7 separate regions of the Homo sapiens genome follow, and regions 1, 3, 4, 5, 6 and 7 are each linked to region 2. The links are contacts of gene promoters, found by promoter capture Hi-C in blood cells and fetal thymus (Javierre and others, 2016). All regions are on one chromosome and are shown on one strand. Each heading gives the region's core, a stretch centred on a gene start or on the middle of the fragment in contact. The rest is flanking DNA. Distances are from core to core; before and after follow the strand shown. Region 1 overlaps KCMF1 (potassium channel modulatory factor 1). Region 2 holds the start of SUCLG1 (succinate-CoA ligase GDP/ADP-forming subunit alpha). Region 3 overlaps TCF7L1 (transcription factor 7 like 1). Region 4 overlaps KCMF1 (potassium channel modulatory factor 1). Region 5 overlaps KCMF1 (potassium channel modulatory factor 1). Region 6 overlaps TGOLN2 (trans-golgi network protein 2). Region 7 overlaps KCMF1 (potassium channel modulatory factor 1).

Region 1 (2,893 bases), core at 99-2,598, 560 kb after region 2:
CAAAATTTTATCATTCCCTCATTTTCCTTTTATAGTTTTACTACATGTTTGATTTCCTAAACTAGATACTGGTTTTCAACTTTATACTGTATGTATTCTTTTTTTTTTTTTTTTTTTTGAGACGGAGTCTCGCTCTGTTGCCCAGGCTAGAGTGCGGTGGCTGATCTCAGCTCACTGCAAGCTCCGCCTCCTGGGTTCACGCCATTCTCCTGCCTCAGTCTCCCCAGAAGCTGGAACTACAGGCGGCCGCCATCACGCCTGGCTAATTTTTTGTATTTTTAGTAGAGACGGGGTTTCACTGTGTTAGCCAGGATGGTCTCGATCTCCTGACCTCATGAGCCGCCCGCCTCGGCCTCCCAAAGTGCTGGGATTACAGGCGTGAGCCACCGCGCCCGGCCAATACTGTATGTATTCTTTGAAATTTCCTTTCACTCATCTGAGGCAGATGTTCTTACCGTTGCTGTGATTCATTCTTTTTCCAATTCATTCTGTGCATATTGAACTGTTGAGCCTTTGAATCTGAATAGCCTTTTTTTTTTTTTTTTTGAGACGGAGTCTCGCACTTTCTCGCCCAGGCTGGAGTGCAGTGGCGCGATCTCAGCTCACTGCAAGCTCCGCCTCCTGGGTTCACGCCATTCTCCTGCCTCAGCTTCCTGAGTAGCTGGGACTACAGGCGCCCGCCACCACGCCTGGCTAATTTTTTTTTGTATTTTTAGTAGAGACGGGGTTTCACCGTGTTAGCCAGGATGGTGTCGATCTACTGACCTTGTGATCCGCCCGCCTCGGTCTCCCAAAGTGCTGGGATTACAGGCGTGAGCCACCGCGCCCAGCCCCTGAGTAGCCTTTTTAAAATTCAGTTACAAAAACTGCCGTCAACATTCTTCCACATTCTCTAGGTGCACACAGACAAAAGATTCCCTCCCCGGGAATTTATTTAAGAGTGAAATTACGGTATCATAGGAGGTATATGTGTTTAACTTGACTAAAAATATGAACAAATTTTTCAAAGTGGTTGTGCTGATTTACACTCCTACCAGCAGGGTATAAGCACTTCTGCTGCCCTTTATCTTCACTAACACTTGATATCATGAAACTTGTAGTTTCTTACCGGTTTGGTAAATGTAAAATGCTAGCTCACGGATGTTAATCATGCACTTCTTTGATGACTAATGAGATTGAGCATCTTTTCATATGTTTACTGGCCATTTATGTTTGTTGTTCTTTGAGTGCCCTTTGACAGGTTTCTCCATTTTTCTACTAAGCATTCATCATTTACTTACTGATATGTAAGAGTTCATAATGCATTCTGAATACCAAACTTTTGTCTGTCATGTATGTTGTACATATCGCCAGTTTCTGAACCTTATATTTTCAATCAATGTAGGCTGTGAAAAGACGAAGAAAAAGGCCGAGCGTGGTGGCTCACGCCTGTTGTAATTCCAGCACTTTGGGAGGCCCAGGCGGGCAGATCACCCGGAGTTCGAGACCAGCCTGGCCAACGTGGTGAAACCCCGTCTCTACTAAAAATACAAAAATTAGCTGGGCATGGTGCCAGGCGCCTATGATCCCAACTCCTTGGGAGGCTGAGGCAGGAGAATTGCTTGAACCCAGGAGGCGGAGGTTGCAGTGAGCCAAGATCTCACCATTGCACTCCAGCCCCGGCGACAGAGTGAGACTCTATCTCAAAAGAATAAAACAAAAACAAAAGATGAAGAAAAAGTCTTAACGTAGTTGGACTTATCTCTTACTTTTTGATTTGGAGAGTGAGAGAGAGAGAGAGAGAGAGAGAGAGAGAGTGTGTGTGTGTGTGTGTGTGTGCGCGTGTGTGTGTGAGAAAGAGAAAGATTTAAGAAATTGTTTTCTACTTTAGACTCATAAAAATATTCTATATTGTCTTCTAGAGATATTTTTCATTGTTCTTTTGAATCCGTCTTTAAACCATGTGGAATTGATTTTTTGTGTGTATAGGATATGGGGAGAGATCCAATTCTGTTTTCCCCACATGCAGATAATCACCTGTTCAGCACCATTTATTGTCCATTCCCTTTTTTTCTCAGTGCTCTTTAGTGACCTTGCTGTTGTAAAACAGATTTCAACATCTGTTTCTGGTCTTTCCGTTCTATTCCATGGGCCAGTTTGTCTCTACCCTGGTGCCATTCCATCTTACTGTAGTTATTATAGGTTTATTATTTGTTATGGTGTTACTTATTATTTATTAGTTTAGCTCTTGATATATAAAACAAGTCCCTCTATCTCATTTTTCTTGGGAGCATCTTGACTCTCCTTGGCCCTTTTTGTAACTTGCATCAACATTTGAGTCAGCTTACCATGCCCCACAAAAAAATTCTTTTTAAATTTTGGTTATTAATTGTATTGAATCCACAAATCTGTTGACATTTTATTATGAACCTTCCAGTCCATGAAGTTGGTATTTATATTTTTTAAAGTCCTTTAGTGTCTTTGAATACATTTTTACTAATTTGCTTCATAAAGGGCTGCCTATCTTTGGTTAGATTTATTCATAGGCACTTTTTTAAAATGCTGTTGCAAATGGCTTATTTTTTTATTGCAGTAAAATATACATAGCATAAAATTTATTTTAACCCCTTTTAGGTGTACAGTTCAGTAGCATTAAGTATATTCACATTCTTGGAACCATCACCACTGTCCATCTCCAGAATTCTTCCATTATCCCAAACTTGAAAACTCTCTACCCACTAAACCGTAACTCCCCGTTCTCCCTTTCCTCAAGCTTCTGGCAACCACTGTTCTACTTTCCTTCTCTTTGAATTTGGCACATCTCGATGGAATCACAAATGACATTTTTTTGGTTTTTTGAGATAGGAGTCCCGCTCTGTCACCCAGGCTGGAGTGCAGTGGCGCAACCTCAGCT
Region 2 (3,032 bases), core at 29-2,528:
AAGGAATTAAGTCTCATAAAATATTCAGTACAAGCAGAATTAAGAGCAAAGCGGAAAAAGAAAACTAACTTTGAGTGTTTGTTACATACGAGATGCTTTATATAAATTGCTCCACTTATTCTGCAGTGAACCCAGATCATCCTGTACATCATCATTGCTAAAATGCACATTTTTTTTCACTTTTTAAAAAACCAGGATACATGTGACAACCACTGGTGTGTCACAGTTTTAATAAGCAATCGTTCTTCATTGTTAGTGGTAAACAAAATAATGGTCCACCTTACAAGTGATGGTGCTTCAGGCCCCTTAAAATGTGTTAATATTTTCATGTGATTGGAAACACTGAAAAACAGATTAAGTGTCCAGGGTTATTACACAGACTGAAAAGGGACTAGCCAGACTTCAAACCCTGATGTGGCTGATTCCAAAGTTTCTTTCTACTATAACCTACCTGACAAGCACAGAGACTTTGAATATGGCAAGAATTTTCCATAGTCAGCGTGTCTCAAAGACTAGCAACCTTGGGTACTAAGTTTTCGGGAACGGATGTGTCCACAAATCGCCTGGTGGAGACACTGCAAATAAGCTGGTTTAGGTCCCAGCCAACCATAAGCTTCTAGTAGTCTATGCGGCTATGCCGACCCCACTCCGTGTGCAGAAACCATCTTTCCCTGACATACAATCCTGCAGAGGGGGAATTCGAAGTGCAGGACCTTTCCGTACTAGGGACAGCCTCATCCCCCAACTTCCTACTGAGACACTCTTCCTCTACCTCTCAACCCAGACCCTTACCTTCCCCACCAAGTTCACCTTGGACCTCTTCATCCCCAACTCCAAATAAGGCCAGTCTAGACGCCACCCCCATCCTGTCATTTGTCACCGCGGGGCCGAGAGCAAGCTCCCAAATTTGCAGGGCTCCCGGACCCGAATCCTGGCTCAGCCACCCAATATCTCCATCTGCCAGCGGCCTAAGTCATGCCCCCCGCCCCACGTATCCAGCAAAGCTCCTTCCACCGTAGGGGTCCCCGACTCGAAGCCGGAATCCCAAGCGGCTCCCAGGCCCCCGCCGAGGTCCAGCCCTGAGGGCCCAGCCGCGGCCTGGGCCAGGAGGTTGGGTCCGGCGGGGCCAATAACCCGCGGGCGCCAGGAAGACAGTACTGGCTGGACTCACGGAGGAAGCTGCGCGACAGGAGACGGGCGGCGGCGAGGCCGCTGCTGCCGGAGACCATGGTAGCGATGTCAGCGGCAGCGGCAAGGGTTGCGGTCATACGCCAATGACACTCCCAGGCCCCCGGGGACCTCCCAGGGGCAGAGGCCGGAGGAGGCAGAGGGTGGCCACAGCAGTCGCCTGAACAAATTTCCCTTTACAGAGGATTCTTCACGAAACAGCGGGAATGGCAGGTGAAGACAAAGAGGCATCCTATCGGAGAGGCAGATAATAACTCGGCTCCTTCCTAGAAATGTGGGTTTGATTAACATTAATTATAACAGCAGCTGAGGGAAAACCCCACGCGAGACTGGCCAGCGCGTGGCATTGTGGGCAATGTAGTCTGACGGCCGCGACTGGTTCGTAGCTTTTGAGTGAGGCGGCGGGAAGGGAGCGAGGGAAGAGCGGCAGTGAGACCGGGGAGACAAGGGACTTGAAGACTAGGAGGGAAGAAACAGCGAGGTGAGGTGCGAAGAGCAGTGCCAGAACTTTGTATCCCAGGCCCATCTCCTTCCCCCTTCGTTTTCCTCGTTTGCTATTAGAGAGAATAATATTTCTCACCGCGTACCTGTGCCTGGACCCGGAAGGGTTGCCGCTGGGGACGGGAATTCGAACTGGCACTGGTGGCCTGTGAAGGGAAAGATGTGATGAGAAAGACCAAAACCTATCTTACTGACAGTTAACTTCTTGGAATGTGAATTTTTTTAGTTAAATAATCATGCAGTCTTTGACTAGCACTAAGTGCATGAGTGTTTATTCCCTGAGGATCCTAAGGGCTGAAATTCGAGGTCAAATGTGACTTTGCTCCCTGATTGGACAAACAGTTCCCTCTTCTGTAACAGCTTTAGAAGGAACCTCAGAGAGTCCCAGAGTCAAAAGGTAAACAAGAGATGAAGTAATCTGCGTCTCTGCCGAAAATCGTGCTCCTGAGATTCCTCATCAGAATTGTCAATAAAATTGCAATCCTAATTTACTTAGGTAGTCATTATAATTGGCACTGAGCTGTGGGATGGATGAGTGGGATTACCCCAGGAGATTGCCCAATACTTCCTTTATGATCCAAATATTGTCATTAACAGGTTGGACTTCACTGCAAATAAACTCCTCCCTCATGGATCATGTTCTTGTGATAACTAAATTCCTCAGAGTTAAATAGTATCAGTGGTTTCCAGATATATCCATTATAACAAAATGGACATTTTTATGGCAAATAAATAGAAAATCCCTTGCTATTTTAAATAGCAAAATTATTCCTGAGCTGTCGCTTGATAAGTTATATGTTTAGTTTCATTTAATTGATAAAATGCATGATGACAAAAAATATAATTTCAGTACACTTTTAATGAAAATTTGTATTTCCATGAAGACGGGGATTTTTGTTTGTTTTGTATCCTGGAGTATCCCCAGCACCTAGAACAATGCCTTACACAAATAACTCATCGTTGAATTGAATTGATATATATAGGAGAAATAGTAGTATATAGATTATTTTTTGGATCCACAGGCAATGTTTGATGGACTTAGGATATTTCAACCTCTTGTAATAACTGCACCCCTGTGGCAGACCAGGTCTCACTAACGCAGGCCTCCATAACAATGTTTCAGTGCTGACTGAGTGGTTAAGTTAAATATTAAAAGCCAGTGCCCTTATACAAAGGCTGAGATGTAACAGAAACCCACCAAGGGTTTTGCCTAGGCCTTTCCTGGGCCTTGAAGCATGACAAATTAATGAAGAAATTCTTAACAGGACCCATTTAGGATTAAACAAGTTTTATTGGAGGTCCGAAGAAACTCCCCAGGCCTCCACAAACAAGTTTATTGGAGG
Region 3 (2,840 bases), core at 341-2,840, 830 kb after region 2:
CATGTAGAAGCTGCCTAACAAGGAAGTATGTCTAAGCAAGTCACAACTGGGCCCGGGTGCGGGATGAAGTTAAGTGCTTAATAATTTGGACTTTACACCTTCAAAACAAGCTCTAAAGACTAACAGTAACATTGTATAAGCAACTATTTGTAAGATCCGATCAGTGTAATTTCATCACTTGCAGATTATTATCCAGACCCCTCACCATGGCCCCACATGCCAGGTGCCTGTCTTCCCTCCAGTGTCCCCCAGGAGCACTGTGTCCAGCCACGCAAAACACATATATGCCCCTCTAGAATATAAGCAACACGAAGACAGGAATCGCATCTGAGCGCCTGTTGTAATGCTCGGGAGCATTTGTTGAATGAATGGAAGAATGAATGGTCTGGTAAAAAGTTAATACCCCTTCTCTACCCACATTTACCCAAGATCCAACCCCTTTTTTCATTCAGAACTGTTTTTTAATTTTAAAAAATCTTTTTTTGAAACCGTAAAAGTAATGCATGCACTGTGTAGAACTCTTGGGAAAATGCCAGAAAGCACAGAAAAAGATCTATAATCCCACAACCCACAAACATTTTGTTAAATAGTATTTCAGTCTGGAGTGTGTGTGTGTGTGTGTGTGTGTGTGTGTGTATACTTATAACTTGCTCTCTGATGACCAAAATGCTTCCTGTCCAGGTAGATGCCTAATAAATTCTGCTGAGTTACAGGCAAATGGGGCCAGAGACCCAGAGACCAGGAGACAAATAATCCAGATAACTTGGAAATGGTTGCAGTTCTCCAAAACTTTAGAGTGACTTAATCCAGCTTTTTGGAAAATGGTCAGATATTCAGGGGTTTTTTAATGCAAATTTTAGCTGTTAGGCTGAGCATCCAGAATCAGAAAAGGGACCTAGAGAGTAAGGAGTTGAGGGATAGAGGAAGGTGTAGAGAAAAATCTAGATGAGGTTAGTGCAAAGGCAGAAATATCTACCACCTTTGAAACTTTGCCACCTCTCTCTTCCTGGTTGCCTTTTATTTAAACATTTTAAAAATAGATAGACATAGATGGTTTCCAGTTGTTTGTTTGTTTTGAGACAGTCTCACTGTTGCCCAGGCTGGAGTGCAGTGGCACAAACTCAGCTCACTGCAACCTCCACCTCCTGGGTTCAAGAGATTCTCCTGCCTCAGCCTCCCGAGTACCTGGGATTACAGGTATTCACCACCACGCCCAGCTAATTTTTTTGTATTTTTAGTAGAGACGGGGTTTCATCATGTTGGCTAGGCTGGTCTGGCACTCCTGGCCTCACGGGATCCGCGCACCTCAGCCTCCCAAAGTGCTGGGATTACAGGCACGAGCCACCACGCCTAGCCCAGTTTTTTTTTTTTTTTCTCCGAGACAGAGTCTCACTATGTCGCCCAGGCTGGAGTGCAGTGGTGCGATCTCAGCTCACTGCAACTTTCACACTCCGGGTTCAAGCAATTCTCCCTGCCTCAGCCTCCCAAGTAGCTGGGATTACAGGCGCCTGCCACCACACATGGCTAATTTTTGTATTTTTTTAGTAGAGACGGGGTTTCACCATGATAGCCAGGCTGGTCTTGAACTCCTGACCTCAGGTGATCTGCCCGCCTTGGCCTCCCAAAGTGCTGGAATTACAGGCGTGAGCCACCTCACCCGGCCCCAGTTTTTAAGCTAAAGTTAGCATCCTGTGCATATATTTGTATACGTGTGCGCTTTTCCCCCCATTTAAAAAAAATTAGAGTTAGGGTCTCGCTATGTTGCTCAGGCTGGCCTTGCACTCCTGGCCTCAAGTGATCCGCCTGCCTCAGTCTCCAAAAGTGCTAGGATTACAGGCATGAGCCATCATGCCCAACCTCCCCATTTTTAAGATATAATTTACATATAGTGAAATTCACATGAGTATATAGTTCTGTGAGTTTTGACAAACTTTTGCAGTCATACATGAGTTCACCACAATCAAGATATAGAACAGTTCTCCTAGTCAGCTTAGCTTGGTATGAAAAGTAAAAATAAAAAAGATATAGGACAGTTCTGTGTTAGGGTTCTCCAGGGAAACAGAACCAAGGTGATGTATGTATATATAGCGAGTGAGTGAGTGAGTGTGAATGTGTAGAGGGAGAAAGATTTAAGAGGGTAAGCTGGCAGGCTGGAGACTGGCAGGGAAGAGTTACAGTCTAAGTCTAAAGGCAGTCTGCTAGCAGAGTTCTATTCAATTTAATGCTCAAGAATAATCCTCTTTGGCACCATTCATTCTCTGTCCTTCCAGCCCACCAGGATGGGAGCTGGGAGCTGTGCCCCTGAGGCCCTGGGCGGCAGCCACACCTTGTGAATCCCCTCTTGGGGTCATTCTTCCCTCTTCTTGAAAGATAACAAATGTTTGCAGCCACATCACTGTAGCCCATTCTGTAGAAGTCTGACAGCCTTCCTTCCCTTTGTCCTGTCTTTGTCCATTTTAATCCAAAAGGGCAGTATTTCTGCTGAGGTGGTTGGTTGAATCCATGCTTCACAGCCCCAGTCTCATTATCTGATCGTCCAGCCACACCATTGGTGTTCTCTTAGGAACACACCTTCTCATTTTTTTGCAATGAGGCTAGGCTGAGAATTTTCTAAATTTTCAAGTTCTGGTTCCTTTTTGCTTAACAATAATTTACTTCTCACATTTTACTACAAGCAGTAAGGAGAAACCAAGCCACACCTTCAGCACTTTGCTTAGAAATAACTTGTGCTGAATATCTAAATTCATCACTCACAAGTTCTACCTTTCACAAAACACTACAAAATAACTCAGCCATGTTTCTTCCCACTTTGTAACAAGAATCGCCTTTCCACTAGTTCC
Region 4 (2,781 bases), core at 258-2,757, 540 kb after region 2:
ACATTCTGAGATCCATTGTTAAACAATTTCATAATCGTGTGAATATCATAGTGTACTAACACAAACCCCTACTGTACACCTAGGCTATATGGATAGCTTGTTGTTTATCTAAGCTAGAAACCTGCATAATATGTTGCTGTACTCAATACTGTAGGCAGTTATAACACAATGCTATTTGTGGTTCTAAACATACCTAAACATAAAAAAGGTATCAGTAAAAATAAACTTGTGGGACCACCATCATATATGCAGTCCTTCATTGACCTAACCATGGTAGGCTTTGGCATCCTCCTCAAAACAGGTAGAAGAATTGATTATATTAATAACATTATTGCAAATACAAAATTGTTACTTTCCTAGTAGTGATGGATCTACTTCAGTTAGCTTTGTTCTTTACATTCTGGTTTTCAGTCTCCAGTATAAATATTAATGGCCCTACTAAATTCATTTAACCTCCAGTTTAGATGGTACCAGTGTCCTATGAAATATGCAGAAACCCTTTCAAAAGCATTTCAGTTTGTCTTTTAATCTTTGACCATAACGCATGCATTGACAGAGCATTCACTGTACCATCAGAGAATCATCCTTTGAACCACCTGCCTCCTTGTTAGCTTACTTTTTAAAAATAAACTTTTATTTTGGGATAATTTTTGATTTACAGAAAAGTTGCAAAGGTAGTATAGAGACTTCCCATATATTCCTTACCTGGTTTTTCCTAATGTTAATAGTTTGCATTACATTGGTACATTTGGCAAAACTAAGAAACCAACACTAGTACATTATTACTAATAAAGCTCCTGACTTTATTGAGGTCTTAACTGTGTTTTTTTTTTTTCACTAATATCCCTTTTCTGTGTGGGATCCAGGATACCAGGTTGCATTTAGTGTCTCCTGGTTTTGACCTTAGTAGCTACAGAGAACTGAGTGTACTGCCTCTTTGTGATAGCTCTGTATGGAGCTGTGGCATCCCCTCAGTGTTGCCTGTTCCCAGCTCTTTTGCTGAACAGCCCATTTTGTCCTTTAGTAATTTCTCTTGGTGTAGTTTCTAGATACTTTGCCATTCTGTCTATATACTATATATACTAACTATATAACTATATATACTACTGTACTTGTTTCCCATTTTAAAACAAGACACACAGAACTGAATGTAGTTCTTCACATATGGTCTGGCAGAGTAAAATGTTGTAGATATATCACAGTTATGAATCTTGTATGGTTATTAATGCAATCTAAGCTTGCTTGTTTATTTGCTGGCATTTTTAGCAACTGCATCTCATCTTGGGCTAATATTGACGCTAAGGTTTTGCTTAGTTAATTAATCCAGGATTTCTTATCACATGAATTGTTTTATCCAAAGGCAAAACTTTGTACGAAGTCCTTTTAAAATTCATCTTGTTGGCCGGGCGCGGTGGCTCACGCCTGTAATCCCAGCACTTTGGGAGGCCAAGGCGGGCAGATAACGAGGTCAGGAGATTGAGACCATTCTGGCTAACACGGTGAAACCCCGTCTCTACTAAAAAAAAGAAAAAAAAAATTAGCCAGGCGTGGTGGCGGGCACCTGTAGTCCTAGCTACTCGGGAGGCTGAGGCAGGAGAATGGTGCAAACCCTGGAGGCATAGCTTGCAGTGAGCCAAGATCGTGCCAGTGCACTCCAGCCTGGGCGACAGAGTGAGACTCCGTCTCAAAAAAAAAAATAAGTCTTGTTTTACATACCCGTTTGCCTCGCTTCAATCTCTGTTCTGTCATCTAGTATTTTAACTGTTTGTTTTATGCACAAGCTTATAAATGTTTGCTGTCATTTTATTTTTTTTATTTTTAATTTTTTGTTTGTTTGTTTTAAATAGAAACCGGGTCTCCCGATGTTACCCAGGTGGATCTCAAACTCCTGGGCTCTAGGAATCCTCCTGCCTAGGATTACAGGCGTGAGCTACCACACCTGGCCTACTGTCATTTTCTAAGTCACTAATAAAAACATATATAAAATAGGGTCAAGTACAGGACCTTACAGGCCCAAGATAACTGGGCAAATGAAAGAAGATGTAGCAAGCATGTAATTGTGTGAGGAAGCTAAAAAGGGTTAGCATAGGGTAAAGGCCCTGGTTCTGCCTTACAGTAGTCACCCTTTATCTGAGGGGGGACATTTTTCCAAGACCACCCAGTGGATGCCTGAACCTGTGGATAGTACTGAACCCTATGTATCCTGTTATTCATCTGATAACCAGCTGCTAAGTGACTAGTGGGCAGGTATACAGCACAGATACGCCAAGCAAAGGGATGATTCACCTCCGAGTGGGACAGTGCATGATGTCATCACACTATTCAAAACAGTAGGTAGTTTAAAACTTATGAATTGTTTGTCTCTGGAATTTTCCATTTAATATTTTCAGACCACTGTTGACCACGGATAACTGAAACCTCAGAAAGCAAAACTTTGGGGCGGGGCGTGGTGGCTCACACCTGTAATCCCAGCACTTTGGGAGGCCAAGGCGGGCAGATCACGATGTCAGGAGATTGAGACTATCCTGGCTAACATGGTGAAAACCTGCCTCTACTAAAAGTACAAAAAATTAGGCAGGCATGGTGGCGGGCACCTTGTAGTCCCAGCTACTCTGGAGGCTGAGGCAGGAGAATGGCGTGAACCCAGGAGGTGGAGTTTGCAGTGAGCCGAGATCGCGCCACTGCACTCCAGCCTGGGCGACAGAGCAAGACTCCATCTCAAAAAAAAATAATAATAAAAAAAAAGAGAAAGCAAAACTTTGGGTTGGGAGGACTGCAGTA
Region 5 (2,750 bases), core at 34-2,533, 580 kb after region 2:
TGTCATAATTTTAGGGTCAGTACCCTAAAGTTACCCTTTGTGTCGAGTTTTCCTGTCCTGTAAGAGATATTAGGCACCATGATGTAGAAATAAAGACACACTCAAAACTAAGCAGTATTTGTGCCCATGAGTGGCACAGTGGCTTGCTTTGTCTCTCCTCCCACTCCCCACCACCTCTTTTCCATTTCTCCTGCCCCGCTTTGCTCTCCTTTTTCTTTCTTCGTCTTGTTCCCTTCATTTCCTCTCAGAAAACACAGTCTTGAGAACAAGCATTTTTGTCTTAAAGCATGAGTTAGCTTGCTAAATATAAAATGTAAAACCTAAAAGGTGACCAGGCCTCTGTGATCGCATCAGCATCTGAGCTTAGTTTTCCTTTCCAACTCCTCATTTGAGTTAACTTCATGTGACCCAAGTGTGGCAACATCTTCCACTTGGTTCTAAATCTAGCCTCTTGATTTTCTTTTTTCTTTTCTTTTTTTTTTTTTTGAGATGGAGTCTCTGTCGCTCAGGCTGGAGTGCAGTGGTGCGATCTTGGCTCACTGCAACCTCCGCTTCCCGGGTTCAAGTGATTCTCCTGCCTCAGCCTCCTGAGTAGCTGGGATTACAGGCGTGTGCCACCATGCCCAGGTCATTTTTGTATTTTTTAGTAGAGATGGGGTTTCACCATGTTGGTCAGGCTGGTCTCGAACTCCTGACCTTGTGATCCACCCACCTCAGCCTTCCAAAGTGCTGGGATTACAGGCATGAGCCACCGTGCCTGGCCTAGCCTCTTGATTTTTCTATGCCAGCTGTCAACCTGGGTGATCCTCCCACCACAGTAATTTCTTATCCTCAGTAATTCTTTATCCCTAGTAGTTATGGAAGTTTGGTTGGTTGATTGGTTGGTTTTATATTATTTCTCTTTGAATGAAGCAGTTCTGAATACCTTCATCCTGCCATCTTAGCAGAATTACTGCAATGAAATAAAAAAGATTTTGAGTATAGAACCAAAGTCAATACACGATAAGGAAGGATCTTGATTTTATTTTACATCCTTGTCTCGAAGGTGCTTTTCTACTTGTTAAATTATCTATCTTATTAGGACATTCTTTGTACGTTTGATGTCTCTGCTTCCCATTCTGTTTTCCTTCTAGGAATCTATATCCTTGTGGAGACTTTTCTCATCTACCAACATTTTTATGTCCCCTCAAGTACTGAAGCCTTTGCAGCTATCATTGGACAGCTCAAGTTGTTTATAGATTTTACCCGAAGGCCAATCTAAAGGAAAGTATCTTAGAAGAAAGATGCCTTTTCCTTTTGGTGGTTATTTTCTCTTTAAATAAAAATCTTATACAGCCTTATAATATTGTAATAAAACTATAACCCAGCACTTGTTAACTTTTTCAGAATGATGAGTCTCTAAGGTAGCTTGTTTTATTTTTAAATAACTGGAACTTGTTTTCTGTTTCTCCAAACATTGCTGGTCTTTTTTTTTTTTTTTTTTTTTTAAAAAAAGCAAGTCTGGCCGGAGTTTAAAACCAAAGACAAATCACATTGTCCTGCATCTCTCAAAGAGTTTACAGTTTAGCTAGGTAAGACCAGAAGCACGTGAAAAGTAAAATATGTATATCAGACATAACCAGGTAATGTCAGAGTACAGGAATGGTACAGATAGTAAAAGTTAAATCCCTAGTAAAGAGAGAGTGGATGGATAATCTGTAAACTTTGACACATACAGCTACTTTTCTGACAGAGGAAAGAATCTGACCACCTTCCTGGCATCTTCTAAGAAAGGCATAGGCAGGTCTATCTACTTCTTTTTCTCTTTTGCCTCATCACATTCCATTGTGACCTGTCTAGTTCTTCTGCACACTGTCATGCTTAAATGTTATTTCTCATGAACATATTTAGGTTTTCCTGAGGATATTTCTCAGAGTCCTGAGTCACATAATCAGGACAGCTGATTAGGCATAAGAGAGACTGATATCAAATCAGAGTTGAACTCTCAGGAGACTTCTGCTTTCTAGTTGTTAGAAGATGGAAAGTTATGTTTGTTTGGGCTTCAGGAATCAGAGCAGTTTGTTTTCCCTCCGTACCCCAGGATTGTCCTTCCAAGTCTCACCTTTTCCATCTCCCCTCATCTCCAGCGCTACCACCTACTCCCACTGTGCTGGCAGCAGACAATAAGGTTGACCAATTGCCTAGATTTTGCCTAAGTGAAAGAATTTCGGCACATGTACTGGCAATGAATCACATATCCTATCTTTAACCTTCTTATTTATGGATAAAGACACAAGTCTACAACTTGAACTGTGCACTTCCTGGGGCTCCTTTTGGTCATGCCCCTTGCTTCAGACCTTTCTTCTTGGCCCTGTTCTTTAAGATTGAAGTTGTTCATACTTCAAGGCTTGGCTACCATTGTTAGAACATTATCTGTCCATTTGAATTTCGGAAGAGTAAGGGCCTTTCCTCTTTAAAACGTTCCTCATTCTTTCTAGCCTTCCCCTCTCCTTCCCTCTGTTTCACCAATTCTGTTAACTATAGAAACCACCTTCCCAACCTGTCACCCGCTCCCCGAACTGTGACTGTGTACACACCATTTTATTCCTACTTTCTCCCATCTCTTGCCAAGAGGCCCATGGAAAGTTGTTCTACTACTCCTTGAGCCTGACCTGGTTACAAGCTTCTGGCCTACCACCCCATTTCTTCAGGAAATAAGGTTTAAAAATGGGCTTCCATACCATATTCCCCTTGGAAGTCACATTCATAAA
Region 6 (2,700 bases), core at 173-2,672, 870 kb after region 2:
TAGCGTGTGGGAGGAAGTCTGTTTGATTTATTCAAAGGTACACAGTCAAAGATCTATCAACTCCTTCCTAGAGATATCTAGGATATAGGACATTCCTTTAAAAAAAGTCATAATCAGAATTTCCTATCTACAAATGTACTTTTTCACCCCACGATGCTACATCAACTACATTCTTTATCAATCTCATTTCATGACTAAGGTTACCCTGCATAATGGACACTTGGACATAGAATAAGAAATACACTTTTTTTTTTTCTTAGAGGCAAGGTCTCACTCTGTCACCCGGGCTGGAGTGCAATGGCGTGATCATGGCTCACTGAAGCCTCGACCTCCCACAGTCAAGCCATCCTCCCACTTCAGCCTCCTGAGTAGCTGGGACCACACACGTCCACCACCACATCTGGCTAATTTTTTTATTATATGTAGAGACGAGGTCTTGCTATGTTGGCCAGGCTGGTCTCGGACTCCTGGGCTCAAGCGATCCTCCTGCCTCGGCCTCCCAAAGTGCTGGGATTAGAGGCAGGAGCCACTGCACCGGGCCAGGAATGCACATTTTTACTAAAGGTCTTCCCCTTTATTCTTTATAGCCATAGGCCTTATGGCCAGAATTGGACTCTCCAATTTTAAGCAGGTTACAGAAACTAGCTTCTAAATGTTGGGGGCTCAATATGAAATGCAATCATTTTGTCATTAGAGTGGTTGCTAATAAACAGACCAAACCCTGATGAAAAAGTAACAGGTGTACGTGTCTGTGCAATTTCTGGGCTTTCTTCTAATTATTATTAATTGCAGAAGTCCCTGGGCTCTTTGGTCCTGGTATCGAAGACGCAGTAATTGAAACCATTCTTTGTGCCACTGCTGATGGAAGAGAGAATGTTGGGAAAGGAAGCTAGAAATGACATATCGTCTCAAGAAGGGAAATAGGATGGAAGGTACGTGCTTTAACTGTCAAGTACTCAGGTCCTCTGAGGCTGTGAAGGACCTAAGTGCAAAGTTATGGGAGGAGATTCCAAGTCAGGTCAGATCCTAATAATGTCCTAACTTGGCTCCTAATGCAGTAGCAGAGGACACTCAGAGTAAACAGGTGACAGGATGAAAACACGATTAACAAAACAAGAGTAAAGAGGCCTAATAGGGCCTGAGGAAAAAACTGAAGTTTGTTTTAAAGTCCCCAGTGCTCACGGGCATCTAGTGACGGGATACCCACCCACACCCAAGCTTCCAGGGTGCTGGAAACCCCACTCCCCTCCGGAAGGCCGCTGTCGACTTACCTTCCGCTTGTTGTGATGAGCGATATAGAGGACAGCCACAAGAATGGCTGCAGTCACCAGATATGCAAAGAAGTGGCTGCTCTCCGCGCTGCCATTTCCAGAACCGTTCGGATAAAGGTCATCCTTCTCGCTACCCGTGGAATCCGAAAGTGTCCCTTCACGGTTCTCACTGGAGGCAGAACCGGACATCTTTTCTTTCTCTTCTTTGGGCGGTGAGCCCTCCTCGGGTCCTGTATCATCATCTTCAGCCTCTTTGGGCTCCACATCCTCAGTAGGCTCTGAAGACTTAACTTCCTCCTGCGGGGGAGAAATGAGGTCAGTTTCCTCCCCAGATTCGGTTTTGAAAGCATGAGGAGAAAGCTTCCCTTTGTCAGCAAGCTGGTTTGTGTCAGCCTTGGGGAGCTCCTTGTTATCAGAAGGGTTGGAGATGGGCTTGGAATGGTCTTTCCGGGAAGGCTGCTCTGGAACCACCTTGTTAGGGCTGTCTTTTGAGGTCTGCTCCTCCGCACCCGACTTGCTGGGCCCGTCTATTGGGCCCTGCTCCTCTGCACCGGACTTGTTAGAGCCGTCTTTTGGAGTCTGCTTCTCCGCACCCGACTTGTTAGGGACGTCTTTTGGGGTCTGATCCTCCGCACCCGACTTGCTGGAGCCGTCTTTTGGGGTCTGGCCGTCCGCACCCGACTTATTAGGGACATCTTTTGTGGTCTGCGCCTCCGAACCTGACTTGCTAGGGCTGTCTTTTTGGGTCTTTGCCTCCGCACCCGACCTGTTGGGGCTGTCTTCTGGGGTCTGCGCCTCCGCACCCGATTTGCCAGTGCTGTCTTTTGGAGTCTGCAGCTCCGGATGCGACTTACTAGTGCTGTCTTTTGTGGTCTGCGCCTCCGAACCCGACTTGCTAGTGCTGCCTTTTTGGGTCTTTGCCTCCGCACCCGACTTGTTGGAGCTGTCTTTTTGGGTCTTTGCCTCCGCACCCGACTTGTTGGGGGTGTCTTCTGGGGTCTGCGCCTCCGCACTCGACTTGCTAGGGCTGTCTTTTGGAGTCTGCGGCTCCGGATGCGACTTGGTAGAGCCTCCAGGCCGTTGGCTCAAGCTGGGGTGGGTGGAGACGTTTCCTGCAGAAGGCCGTACTCCAGCTTCTTCTTGCTTGACGCTTTCGGTGGCCAAGAGCGGCACGGCTCCTGAAATAGAAAAACGAGTTAGCACCGGAGAAGGGCAGGCGGGAAGAAGGAACTCCTCAGAACTGGAAGAGATCGGGAGCAGCGGGGGAATGGGGATTGGGGGGTGGGGCGGGAGACGATGGCGAGCGGAGAGGTGGGTCGGGTAGGGAAGAAGCGAGCCTAGAGGTGACCTGCCCAGGTGAGAATGGGGGATCTGGGGGCAAGAGTGGGATGCGGGATGGAGGGTCTTACCCGCCGCTGCGACGTTCAGG
Region 7 (2,956 bases), core at 158-2,657, 600 kb after region 2:
TACAGTACTTTAGAATAAATTGCATATTGTATCAGGCTCCGAGACTAATTTGTACTGAACCCTTGATATAGATTACCTTTTATAACATCACCACCTGTCATGAAGCTTATCTGTTTTCTGATTTGAATAAACTTTGTGTTGTGCACCTCAGTTTCCATTGCATTCACTGAGATAGCTGAGTGTGACTTCAGTGTTGTGTCATCTTAAGATGTCAGTAATGTTCAACACAGACTTGGTCATCTGTGGCACTGGTGTTTCGGCATTTCTATAGTTTTTGTTTTGTTTTGTTTTTTGAGATGGAGTTTTGCTCTTGTTGCCCAGGCTGGAGTGCAGTGGCACTATCTCGGCTCACTGCAATCTCCGCCTTCTGGGTTCAAATGATTCTCCTGCCTCAGCCTCCCAAGTAGCTGGGATTACAGATGTGTGCCACCACGCCCAGCTACTTTTTTGTATTTTTAGTATTTTGTATTTTGTATTTGTATTTTTAGTAGAGACGGGGTTTCACCATGTTGGTCAGGCTGGTCTCAAACTCCTAACCTCAGGTGATCCACCTGCCTCGGCCTCCCAAAATGCTGGGATTACAAGCGTGAGCCACCACACCTGGCCTCATTTCTATAGTTTTAAATCCCCTGTGAAATACCATTACTCCTATTGTCCCTGTCTGCGTCCTCTCCTGTTTCTGTGTGTGTGTGTGTGTGTGTGTGTGTGTGTGTGTGTGTGTGTGTTTTATTAATGCTTCCAGTGACATCTGCAGTTTCAGTTCCATTTGCCTACGGAATTTTCAGGACCACCCTGGTTACCACTGTTGCTGGTGTCTGAGCCTGAGGGGTGAACATGTGGCCTCTCTCCTCAGTCCAGAAAAGGACTTTGGAATACTGATTCTACTTACAGCTTCACAGGGCAAGACTAGAAAGAAGGACTTGAGAAGGAGCCCCCTGAACTTCAGCATGAACATAAGCCCCACCCACTCAGGACCGGAAGGGACAAGACTTGTTCCTTATCCATTTTTTTTTTCCCTCTTCAGAGTTCCTGTTGGCTTTTGGTGGTTGTTTTTCCCCATTTTGAACACTCAACTGCCTCTAGCCAATGGCAGGGTTTTTTTTGTTTTGTGTGTTTGTTTGGTGTTTGTTTGTTTTGTTTTTGAGACGGAGTCTCACTCTGTCGCCCATGCTGGAGTGCAGTGGCGCAATCTCGGCTCACTGCAACCTCCACCTCCCGGATTCAAGCGATTCTTCTGCCTCAGCTTCCTGAGTAGCTGGGACTACAGGCCCGCGCCACCACATCCAGCAAATTTTTTGTTTTTTAGGAGAGACGGGGTTTCACTATGTTGGCCAGGCTGGTCTCATACTCCTCACCTCAGGTGATCCGCCCACCTCAGCCTCCCTAAGTGCTGGGATTACAGGAATGAACGACCGTGCCCGGCCAAGCCAATGGCAGGTTTAAAAGCAAGTAGTGAAAATTACCTTTTAGTATCTACCTGAACAAATGCCTTTCACTCCAGCCTAGGGCTCTAGGGTTGTCCCCCAAGTCACTGTGTTCTGAGGAGGATGGTGGATTGTATTTTTTTTTTTTTTTTAAGACAGGGTCTCACTCTGTCTCCCAGGCTGGAGTGCAGTGGTGCAATCTCGGCTCACTGCAGCCTAGATCTCCTGAACTCAAGCTATCCTCCCACCTCTGCCTCCCGAGTAGCTGGGAGCTACAGGCACATGCCACCATACCCAGCTAATTTTTGTGTTTTTTGTAGAGATGGGGTTTCACCATGTTGCCCAGCCTGGTCTCAAATTCCTGGGCTCAAGCGATTTGCCCACCTTGGCCTCCCAAAGTGCTGGGATTACAGGCATGAGCCACCATGCCTGGCCGGATCTTTTTAAGAACACTTTTGGCATATTTCGATAAAACTTTTAATCCTTTCATAGTATTTTCCAAGTGTTCACCATTCTATGGTTATAAAGCCCCGAACAAGTCCACCTAAGAAAACCAAAACCCACCATGTCCACTCGCAGGCGCTTGTCCAGTGGTCCTGGGCAACACATTCTTTTCACACAGCTGTCTTTCAAACTGCCTTCAGCTCTGGTAGAGTCTGGCCACCAAGGATTGGGGTGGGTTGGTTGATTACTCCACGAATCCTAAAATGTAAAGGTTGCAACAAATAGCACTTTTCACATCTTATACTGTTGTAAGGCACACATTTTAGACATTGTTACATTTCAAGTAGACAGCATTTGATGAAGTGTTTGTAAGATAGCTTTTAGATGCTTATAAATTCTGTAGCCAGCCATAACAGATGTTGGCTGGGAGAAAGAATGGAATTAAGTTTGTAAAAAGAAGTGGTTGGAAAAATTACAATGAATCATGAGAATGGATGTGAATCTTCTGTATTAGAAATTAGGGTTCTCTCTCTTGGGATTCTCTCTCTTACCTCAAAAGTACCCAGATCATGCTTGGACTAGGAGGCAAGTCATGGGTAATAATTGGTAGGTCAATTCTGGGGAGGTAAAATTTGCGGAATTTCCTGGATTACTGACATTGCCTGCGCTGTGAAAGAAAAAGGGAAAATGGTGGTCTTGCTTGATCAGATGTTAGAACTTGGAATTCACGGTGGGGATAAGGAGATGCACATTTTTGTGTCAAGGGCAGTGGATGGGACTCAAAATCAAGCTGGGTTGGAGGTGAAGTTAGGGAAAACCTGGAGAATGGAACTCTGGAATTAAAGCTTAGAATTGGAAAGGTCTAATTGCTCTCTGGGTGCAGGAGTTCCCATGGAAACCTTCCTGACAAGTAAATATCCACCCAGAACAGGGAGAAGATAAAGTGCTGTGGTTACAAGCACAGATGTGAGTTTCAATCTTAGCCCTACCGCTTACTAGCTGTGTGATCTTGGCCAAGTTAATTAACTTTAATTAAACAGTATGCCTATTGTCTCATTCTTAAATGTAGCTAATCATAGTATTAAATA

Evidence for each region. The method cuts DNA at HindIII sites, captures the fragments that hold promoters and counts their contacts. A CHiCAGO score of 5 or more calls a contact.
Region 1: a contact is called between a fragment that was not itself captured here and the fragment with the promoter of SUCLG1 in region 2, in 5 of 17 cell types (total B cells, naive CD8 T cells, total CD8 T cells and 2 more). The highest score is 11.7, in total B cells.
Region 3: a contact is called between a fragment that was not itself captured here and the fragment with the promoter of SUCLG1 in region 2, in 6 of 17 cell types (total B cells, naive CD8 T cells, activated CD4 T cells and 3 more). The highest score is 7.7, in total B cells.
Region 4: a fragment that was not itself captured here is called in contact with the fragment with the promoter of SUCLG1 in region 2 in 3 of 17 cell types (total B cells, naive CD8 T cells and total CD4 T cells); the score reaches 7.1 in total B cells.
Region 5: a fragment that was not itself captured here is called in contact with the fragment with the promoter of SUCLG1 in region 2 in 5 of 17 cell types (activated CD4 T cells, total CD8 T cells, total CD4 T cells and 2 more); the score reaches 7.7 in activated CD4 T cells.
Region 6: a fragment that was not itself captured here is called in contact with the fragment with the promoter of SUCLG1 in region 2 in 6 of 17 cell types (total B cells, naive CD4 T cells, naive B cells and 3 more); the score reaches 9.0 in total B cells.
Region 7: a contact is called between a fragment that was not itself captured here and the fragment with the promoter of SUCLG1 in region 2, in 4 of 17 cell types (total CD4 T cells, total B cells, monocytes and 1 more). The highest score is 6.7, in total CD4 T cells.

The regions. Positions count from the first base shown.
Region 1 is chr2:85,022,789-85,025,681 of GRCh38, forward strand. All of the region lies in intron 1 of KCMF1 (potassium channel modulatory factor 1), which reads left to right. Among named protein-coding and RNA genes, the nearest start is that of LINC01964, 43 kb to the right of the region's middle. RefSeq lists an enhancer at 486-1,170. The HindIII fragment of the contact is 2,803 bases long and covers 1-2,750 here.
Region 2 is chr2:84,458,002-84,461,033 of GRCh38, forward strand. SUCLG1 (succinate-CoA ligase GDP/ADP-forming subunit alpha) reads right to left here and starts at 1,279. Exons shown (of 9, transcript NM_003849.4): 1 at 1,172-1,279. The coding sequence starts at 1,268. It also overlaps a transcript of DNAH6 not described here. RefSeq lists an enhancer at 1,316-1,455 and a silencer at 1,636-1,825. The HindIII fragment of the contact is 6,917 bases long and covers 612-3,032 here.
Region 3 is chr2:85,288,618-85,291,457 of GRCh38, forward strand. All of the region lies in intron 4 of TCF7L1 (transcription factor 7 like 1), which reads left to right. Among named protein-coding and RNA genes, the nearest start is that of TGOLN2, 38 kb to the right of the region's middle. RefSeq lists an enhancer at 1,333-1,833. The HindIII fragment of the contact is 5,806 bases long and covers 1-2,840 here.
Region 4 is chr2:85,001,792-85,004,572 of GRCh38, forward strand. The region is part of intron 1 of KCMF1 (potassium channel modulatory factor 1); the gene reads left to right. Among named protein-coding and RNA genes, the nearest start is that of KCMF1, 32 kb to the left of the region's middle. The HindIII fragment of the contact is 544 bases long and covers 1,236-1,779 here.
Region 5 is chr2:85,040,297-85,043,046 of GRCh38, forward strand. The region is part of intron 3 of KCMF1 (potassium channel modulatory factor 1); the gene reads left to right. Among named protein-coding and RNA genes, the nearest start is that of LINC01964, 26 kb to the right of the region's middle. The HindIII fragment of the contact is 2,754 bases long and covers 1-2,660 here.
Region 6 is chr2:85,325,237-85,327,936 of GRCh38, forward strand. TGOLN2 (trans-golgi network protein 2) reads right to left here. Exons shown (of 4, transcript NM_006464.4): 1 at 2,681-2,700; 2 at 1,272-2,449. Among named protein-coding and RNA genes, the nearest start is that of TGOLN2, 1.4 kb to the right of the region's middle. RefSeq lists enhancers at 1,356-1,525, 1,766-1,945. The HindIII fragment of the contact is 413 bases long and covers 1,217-1,629 here.
Region 7 is chr2:85,059,328-85,062,283 of GRCh38, forward strand. It overlaps KCMF1 (potassium channel modulatory factor 1), which reads left to right. Exons shown (of 7, transcript NM_020122.5): 7 at 1-145. Among named protein-coding and RNA genes, the nearest start is that of LINC01964, 6.5 kb to the right of the region's middle. The HindIII fragment of the contact is 2,608 bases long and covers 104-2,711 here.